2 separate regions of the Homo sapiens genome follow, and region 2 is linked to region 1. The links are contacts of gene promoters, found by promoter capture Hi-C in human tissues and cell types (Jung and others, 2019). All regions are on one chromosome and are shown on one strand. Each heading gives the region's core, a stretch centred on a gene start or on the middle of the fragment in contact. The rest is flanking DNA. Distances are from core to core; before and after follow the strand shown. Region 1 holds the start of EMP2 (epithelial membrane protein 2). Region 2 overlaps TEKT5 (tektin 5).

What was found. Contacts are between HindIII fragments. The study calls those that stand out against the background at their distance.
Region 2: a fragment that was not itself captured here is called in contact with the fragment with the promoter of EMP2 in region 1 in 2 of the 25 tissues and cell types used here (H1 embryonic stem cells and liver).

What each region holds. Positions count from the first base shown.
Region 1 is chr16:10,578,646-10,582,948 of GRCh38, forward strand. EMP2 (epithelial membrane protein 2) reads right to left here and starts at 1,953. Exons shown (of 5, transcript NM_001424.6): 1 at 1,904-1,953. RefSeq lists an enhancer at 1-556 and silencers at 227-521, 1,874-2,113. The HindIII fragment of the contact is 8,569 bases long and covers 852-4,303 here.
Region 2 is chr16:10,666,307-10,670,609 of GRCh38, forward strand. The region is part of intron 5 of TEKT5 (tektin 5); the gene reads right to left. Among named protein-coding and RNA genes, the nearest start is that of TEKT5, 26 kb to the right of the region's middle. The HindIII fragment of the contact is 5,003 bases long and covers 1-4,303 here.

The DNA.
Region 1 (4,303 bases), core at 703-3,202:
TCCGTGGTTTCCAACACAAACACATTCTCTGGATTTCAGGCGCACCTCAATCTCTCCACTTGAGGGGCAGAGGAGGCTCCAGGCTATGTGGCCAGCCCTCTGCCTCCTACTCGACTCCCTGGCTCCCCATGGGATGGAGGTGGTGAGATCCAAAAACCCTCAGTGGGAAAACAGGTTCTGCACCTTCCTGCCACCTCCACGCCTCTCCCTGGGCTGTAGTCTTGGCATTTGCCAAGGCCCCCGTGGGCATCCACGCCCTGTTTTCCCCAGAAGGGTCTCCCCTCATTCCCTGCAAACCAGCAGGGCATCTCCAGGTGGAAAGAAGGGGAGGGCTTGGGAGGCAGATGGAGGTTCAAGGTCTAGTTCTTTGCATTTACCAGCTCAGTGGCCTTGAGCAAACCGACTTAGATCTCTAGCCTGTTTCCCCACTTGCAACAGGAGAGCGTGCTGGAAACAGCTCAGGGGTGAGGCTCCCAGGGAGAAACGGAGATGGAGGGCGAGCACCAGCCAACTGCAAACCTCCAGCAGCTCAGGTCGCCATCCTTCCCCTTGTGTGACTCCTGGGAAACCAGGACCCCGTCCCTTCCTCGTCCTCTTTAAGCTTTCTTAACTGAAGGCCGAATTCCAGGAAGAGGTGCCCAGCAATAATGTGTCGGTTCTTAGATTTCTCTCTGATTCAGACTGGAGTGCAGAGGTGGCTAAAGGCGGCTTTTAAAAAATTTTTATGATAAAATATGCATAACATCATAATCATCATTTTAACCGATGATAAGCATACAACTCAGTGGCATTAAATACCTTCACGATACTGTGTAACCATTGCCACTATGTATACCCAAAACTTTTTCATCCTCCCCAAGAAAAACTCTGTCCCATTAAACAGTAACTCCCGGTTCCCAGGTACCCCCAGGCCCTGGCAACCATCATTCTACTTTCTGTCTATAAAATTTGCCTATTCTAGGTGTCTCATAAAAGTGGAATCACACTGTATTTGAACTGGAGGCTTCTTAAGTCCCTCTCCAAGCCCCTTACTTAGACACAGCTGAATTATAAGATCAAGGTGCACACACACACACACACACACACACACACACCCTCAAAGCTTGGGAGGGGCAGTGCTCCCTTCCCCAAAACTGAAGCTGGCCTGGAGGGAGAGCTTTGCCCTGTGGTGTCTTCGGAGTCCCCATGTCCAGCCCCACATCTTCACCTAAAAGACCTCCCTGGAGCGTGCTCAGATCTCTGGATTTGGGGAGGGCGTAGAATACACACTACGAGCTGCAGCCTCTCCTACCTCTGGAACACATGGGTGCGGTCTCGCCTCTTTAAAGCCCCCCAAGCCCTTCTAGAGTTGGCAGGGAGAGAGGTGTCATCCCAGCAGCGCCTCCCGGCTCCTCCACCGTTCCTGACCCCCAAGAAGTCGCTCCTCGCCGCTCGGGGGCGCGACGGAGCAGCGGCGGGGGCCTAGAGGGGTACGCAGCCCAGGAGGACCCGCTGGCCCGGCCTGGCGCACCAGTCCTGCCCGCGAGGCGAGTCTGGGGACGCTGCCCGGGAATCCCTCACGCGACCTGGGGATCTCCCTGGACTCCAAGAGCCCCGGGTGTAAGTCCGGCGGGGCGAGGGGAGGCGCCCTGACTCCTCCCCAAACTTTTCCCGCCTGCTTCGGCTCAAAAGGCGTGGGAAGCTGTCCCGGGATGGCGAAGTGGAATTCTGGGGCCGGAGCGAGCGTGGCGCAGACCAGAGGTCGGCGGCATGGGTGGCACCTCGGCCCTCCCGTTACTGTCACCAATTCCGGGGGCTGCTCCCGGTCCAGTAAGTGGAGGGGTCGCGTCCCTGCTGCCCGGGCGTACACGATCCCGGGGCCCCCCCGATGTCGCCCCGCGCCCTGGGTGCGCCCACAACTCACCCGGCGCTGGCGGCTGCGCTGGCAGCTGGATCGACGGACTGGCTGGGGGTGCGAGGCGAGGCCGCCGGGCTGTTTTGAAGCTCTGGGCTGGGACTGCGCGCCCTCCCTCCACCCTCTAGGCGGCGGGGCCCCTCCTTCCCCGATCCCGCCTCCCGGGCCGTGACGCCAGGAGCCGGGAGAGCCGAGTGGGAGGGGCCGCCGGCGAAAGGAGGGGGCCCTGGAGGGAAAGGCCGAGGCCGGGAGCGCCCTGGCGCCCCCGCACCACCGTTCCCGCCCGCCTCCCTGCGGCTCTGTGGCCAGCTTTGGGGCGGAGCCGGTGGCACGGGCCCGGGGGAAAAGGGAGAAAGGGAGGCTCCCGGGAGCAAGGGTCTTCCCTTCTCTGCAGGTTTCCACATCCCTCTCATTCTCTTTCCTCTCCTCTTCTCCCCTTTTCTTCCTCTTCCCTAAGGAGTTTTGGAATCCGGGCTCCCTGCTCTAGAACCCCTTCTCTGGCCTTTTATGAACTTCCTGAGCTCGTCCATAATCTCCCCTGTCTCAGTTTCCTCTTCTGGGAATGGGAGTGATTATAGGTCGGAAGGTGGTAATACGTCCACAATGTTTGGCTCATGGTACCTGCTCCATAGACGTCAGCCATTGTTATTTTTATCATCTCACCTGGAGTCCTGGCCTTGGTGCGAGATGCCCAGCAACCAGTCTTCAGACTCTTCCAGGACCCCCCGTTCACTCCCCCCACCCGACCAGTACACACACACACACACACACACACACACACACACTCACACAAAGCACTCCCCACAGCCTTTCAACCCACAGTCCTGGTATTTAGTGTCCCTGGAAATGACATCAAAGGAACTGCCTTTCTTTCCAGCCTCAGTTTCCCCATCTGGAAACTGGGAGGGCTGATCTGCTCTAGGGGCTCTTGGGAGGATGGGGGAGGAGACCAGAGGCGCCTGAGCCCCATCGTGTGTGTGTGGAAGGAGGGAGTGGGAGTCAGTGTATTTTTACAAATTGAAGAAATTCCAAAACAGGGTCACAACATATAACAGTATATTTTAAACTTTTAATTTAACAAGTTCATGTTACTTGCACATACCCCAGAATACAAGGCAATTGACTTGTGCTACTGACAAGAGAATGAGAAACCCTTTTAAGAAATGTTAATTTATTGTGCAATCCTGTGCTCTGGTTGGACTCCATGTTTGTATTTTCTGTTGAGCATCTTTTTTTAGTCCTGCTGAGGAGCTCTGTCACGAGAGGGCCTTGTTGGCTCTAAATTAGAGATCCTTGGGGGATTTGAGATCCCCTCTAAAGGGCCACCCCCTCCCCCAGGCCTTGAGCTTCCCAAGTTGGCCTAGGGTCTGACCTGCCAAATCTCCTTTAATTCTACAGTTAACCAAGACTCCCATCCCCCAAGATAATTGTGTGTGTGTGTGTGTGTGTGTGTGTGTGTGTGTGTGTGTGTGTTTGGAGCTGGAGAGGGGACAGGAAGGCACTAATATGAACTGAGTCCTCTTCCTCCATAAAAGGGGAGGAGGGTGAGGTCTGGTTGCTATAGAGGAGGACCAGGAAGGGCCCACCTACCTGCCTATGGCCATGTGGAGGACAGAGAAAACTCCAGAGTCTCCCAGAATGGAAAGGCCAGGTAGGGGATGGAGCAGGCAGGTTTCTGCATTTGCTGAGGGCTTAGTGTGTGCCGGTTACTTTACAAACATAACCTTCAATAGAACACGGCAGCCCTGCAAAACAAGTTACCCTCATTTTATCCATGAAGAAACTAAGGCTCAGAGAAGCTACACCAGTAACTTACCCAAAGTCTCTATGCAGTTGATAAAGTTTGGATTTGAACCCAGACTCACTGCAGCAAACCCCATTCTCCTCTTTCCACCCTATCACTATTTACCAAATGCTAACCACACTCAAGCTCTAAATTTTGCCATATCCACCTTCCACCTGAACTGGTATTCACTTAATTGTTTTCTTTAAATTAACTCCGTTGATTTTAATATGTTTATTTGAAAAAGAAAGCCCTATATTGCTATGGTAAACAGGAAACCAGTGCCATCTGCCAAAAGTAGAAGACAAACTTATGAATATAAACACTATTGAAATAAAACAGTGTTAGTAAATTGTAGCCAGATACTGTTGCCTGAAAGAGTCCATGAGTCTGAGGTTTAGCGTCTATTAAAAGGGAGCCAGGTGCGGTGGTGCTTACCTGTAATCCCAGCTGCTCGGGAGGCTGAGGTTGGAGGATCGCTTGAGCCTGAGAGTTCCGAGGCAGCCTAGGCAACATAGCAAGACCCTGTCTCTTAAAAAAACAGTGGGGGTGATCAGTAAGATGTTAAAAGCATGCTAACACAGAGAAGTCTTTCTTCTGTTATCAGAACTATTGCAAGATCATTG
Region 2 (4,303 bases), core at 1,066-3,565, 88 kb after region 1:
TCTACCTCCTCAAACCCTCCCCTCCTGTTCCTCGGTGGTGCCTGGAATTCCTTTAAAACAAGGTTTCTCAGCCTCAGCACTACTGACATTCAGGCCCAAACATTCTTTGCTGTGGGGGGCTGCCCTGCGCCGTGTGGGATGTTTAGCAGTATCCCTGGCCTCTGCCCAGTAGATGCCAGCAGCACCCCCTCACCAAACTATAGCAACCAAAAATGCCTCCAAACATTTCAAGTGTCCTCTGGGGGACACAACTGCCTTCAGCTGACAACCACTACAGTGAAGAATTACTCAGGCCACAACTTCTAAGAAAATGCAGACTGCAGAGAGAGGGAACGCCTGCACAGGAATGAACAGCAGCCATTGATTACTGAGTGTCTGCATGGGTGGATCACCTTATGAAGCCAGGGATGGGGTGTTGTTCTGAAGTCAATACAAGGCGTGAGAACTGTGTCTCGTCAAAAGTGCCCTTGCAACCTGGTCATCCCTCCATCAGGACATACGGCTGTTTCCTTATTTGAATACTGATGCGGGTGTGTTTTCCTAAAACATGGCAGTCACTTTCATGGCACAGTTGCCCATATGAACTATCTACACTGATGCAGGGGTAACTATTCTGCCAGGGATTCCGATGAAATGAACTAAACTTCATTCAGCCTAACACTGGCTCCTTACTTTTTTTTTTTTTTTTTTTTTTTGAGACAGGGTCTCACTCTGTTGCACAGGCTGGAGTGCAGTGGCACAATCACAGCTCACCAAAGCCTTGGCCTCCTGGGCTCAAGTGATCCTCCCACTTCAGCCTCCCAAGTAGCTGGGACTACAGGCGCATGCCACCATGCCCAGCTAATTTTTATGTTTTTTGTAGAAACAAGATCTTACTCTGTGGCCCAGGCTGGTCTCAAACTCCTGGGCTCAAGCTATCCTCCCACTTCAGCCTCCAAAAGTGCTGGGATTACAGGCATGAGCCACCACGCCTGGCTTCCTTCCTTACGTATGTTAAAGATCTCTCCCCTACACAGTGAACTGTAACCTAACTGGATGTGTGAACAGCCTGGAACCGACTCCTATACCAATCACAGAATTTTAGCCAATCGCAGGCAGCCAACTGTTCAAATCATGTTCAAATAAGGCAAACAAACAATGAGCAGTAACCAATCTGGCTGTTTCTGTACCTGACTTCCGTCTTCTGTGCATCACTTTCCTTTTTCTGTCTGTAAATATCATCCGACCACGTGGCAGCTTTGGGGTTGCTCTGAATCCATTCTGGTTCAGGGGGCTGCCCAATTCACGAATCATTCTTTGCTCAATTAAATTCTGTTAAATTTAATCTGCTTTAAGTTTTTCTTTTAACATTCCCAAATTTCAGGTACTGGGCAGCATCGTCATCATATTTCCCATATCCACATACCATCTACATAATCATTTAATATTTTTCTTCAAATCAGCCTGTTTCAGGCTTTAACATATGTATTTGAAATGAAATCTTTAAATTATTTCCACAAGTGGAAAACTACTATTGTTTTCCACCAATAGAGGGTACCATAACAATAGGCAAAATGGGAAAAATAAGTTAATAATTTTTTTTTTTTTTTGAGATGGAGACTCGCTCTGTCGCCCAGGCTGGAGTGCAGTGGCATGATCTTGGCTCACTGCAACCTCCACCTCCCAGGTTCAAGTCATTCTCCTGCCTCAGCCTCCCAAGTAGCTGGAACTACAGGCATGCGCCACCATGCCCAGCTAATTTTTGTATTTTTAGTAGAAACGGAGGTTTCACCATGTTGGCCAGGCTTATCTGGAACTCTTGACCTCAGGTGATCTGCTTGCCTTGGCTTCCCAAAGTGCTGGGATTACAGATGTGAGCCACCACACCTAGCTGGAAAAAAGAAGTTAATAATTATATCTAGGTTCTATTGCTTTCCAAAGCTTCTAAGCCTGAGGCCTGATGCCTTTGTTAGAAAGGCAGACGGGCAAAGGAAGGATAGGTGTTAAAGAGAGGTCGGCATCATGATGAGTCTTCCTCCGTGACACCATCAGAGAAGAGAGAGACTTTCTCCCTGGGATGCAGTGGTGTCTCATGAGGAGGGTAGCACAGGGCCAGGCTGCCAGCTCCACTTCCCCAGGGCTGGGCCGGTTTTAGAAACCAGCCGTCAGTAGCTTGGCTGCAGGCTCCAGTGCTGGAAGGAATCGGCTGCAAAGCACAAAAGCATTTCCCACTGCACAATGGGTTCCAGACCTCCTTGGACAAACAGAGGGGTTGGCAGTAGACACGCAGGGCCTCAGATCACCAGCAGGGGCCCTCACCCCTCAGACGCCAGGCCTTCCTGCCCAGGCCTTCCTGGGAAGGGGTGGTTTTGCTGATGCTAACAATGGCTGCTTGGGAGTCAAAACCCCAAAGAAACTTCAGAATGAAACCAAAGCCCTTCAAGGTTAAAATTCATAGCCCTTCTCTGTTCTGTTCAACCTCTTCCTATGCCTGGATGTTTTGTTTATCTGCCTGTCTGAGTTTCCTCTGATATATAAAGCAGAGTGCACAAATACAGGGCTACAGGATCAAGTAAATAATGCAAATGAGGGAAGCGTGCTGTAATAGGGAGTGGTGGGGTCTGAGGCTAACTGGAGCACCTGACCCAAAGAGAGGCAGCAGCCACTCAACCCTTACCCACTGTTCCCCTGTAGAAACATGAGCTCTGAATTGCTAGAGCTACTAATTTTTCAAGAGACGCTGGAAATCTGAAATTTTTTTATGTGAAATCACCATTTTTTACCAAATATTTTTTGAACTCTGTGAGAGTGCATACAAATATGTGTACATGAGTGTTCACAGCAGCTTTATTTGTAACAGCCCCAAACTGGAAACAACCGAAATGCTTATCAACAGGTGAGGCCACGTACGGTAGCTCACGCCTGTAATCCTAGCACTTTGGGAGGCTGAGGCCGGTGGATCACCTGAAGACCAGCCTGGCCACCATGGTTAAACCCTATCTCTACTAAATATACAAAAAAAAAATAGCTGGGCAAGGTGGTGCATGCCTGTAATCCCAGCTACTCGGAAAGCTGAGGCAGGAGAATCGCTTGAACCTGGCAGGCGGAGGTTGCAGTGAGCCGAGATCGTGCCACTGCACTCCAGCCTGGGCAACAAAGAGAGACCCTGTCTCCAAAAAAAAATTATAAAAGGGAGATTGGCAGGTGTTAAAAGAGGTAAGGAAGGCATTCTAGCACTTTTGAGATGGTCAGAAGCAATGAAGAAGGAATAACCTTCTCATTGTATGATTCAGTGATATTAATGCTATATCCATGTAACACATATAATATTTCACCTGCCAGGGTCTAGTTCCCACAATGTCAGAATAAGCACTTTCTCCATAGAAGTATCCCTGACCCCACACATCCTACCCCCAAAAACCATATTTATGCATCTTTTCCCCCTACACATTAAGAGATCCCCCACTCAAATGCACATTCACTTGGGTAATTGCATGTAAATGAGGGGTTGTTTTTCTGGAAGTTTCCAGGGCCCTGGGTCTCAGAGGAATCAGCACTCAAAGGCAGCAACCCACTCTGTGGCCACCAACTTCTTTAGTCCAGAGAAGTCACCAGCTCCTTTGCTAGCAGTGGTCAGTATGACACAGTGATACCTGGAGCCTCAAAGTGCAAGGATGAGGCCCCGGGGCAAGCTATGAGGCTTGGGGTGTGGCCGAGGTGACAGAACTCTAGCATCCCAGTGAACAGATGAGGCTGTCTGCACAGCCCCAAACCACTGTCTGCACGTGGAGCCGTGTAGATTTGGTCTTACAAGGTGGATTCCTGTGACCACTTGGGAAATAACTGCCTTGCAGCATAGGTAAGGATGGGCACTTGGAATTTTCCAGAAATGCCTTTTGCCAAGGACTATCAGGCTAAGCTCAACTAATAACAGTTACATTTTTAAAGAGAGCATTTCAGTCCGGGCACGGTGGCTCAAGCCTGTAATCCCAGCACTGTGGCAGGCCAAGGCGGGTGGATCACCTGGGATCAGGAGTTTGAGACCAGCCTGGTCAACATGGTGAAACCTCATCTCTACTAAAAATACAAAAATTAGCCGAGCATGGTGGCAGCTGCCCAGCTACTCAGGAGGCTGAGGCAGGAGAATCACTTGAACCTGGAAGGCAGAGGTTGCAGTAAGCCAAGATCTCGTCACTGCACTCCAGCCTGCACGATAGAGTGAGACTCCACCTCAAAAAAAGAAGAGAGCATTTCAAATCCTCTAGCCAAAGTAAACTGTTGAAAAGTGAAATGGTTGCTATACATTTATCTTCATTGCATCAAA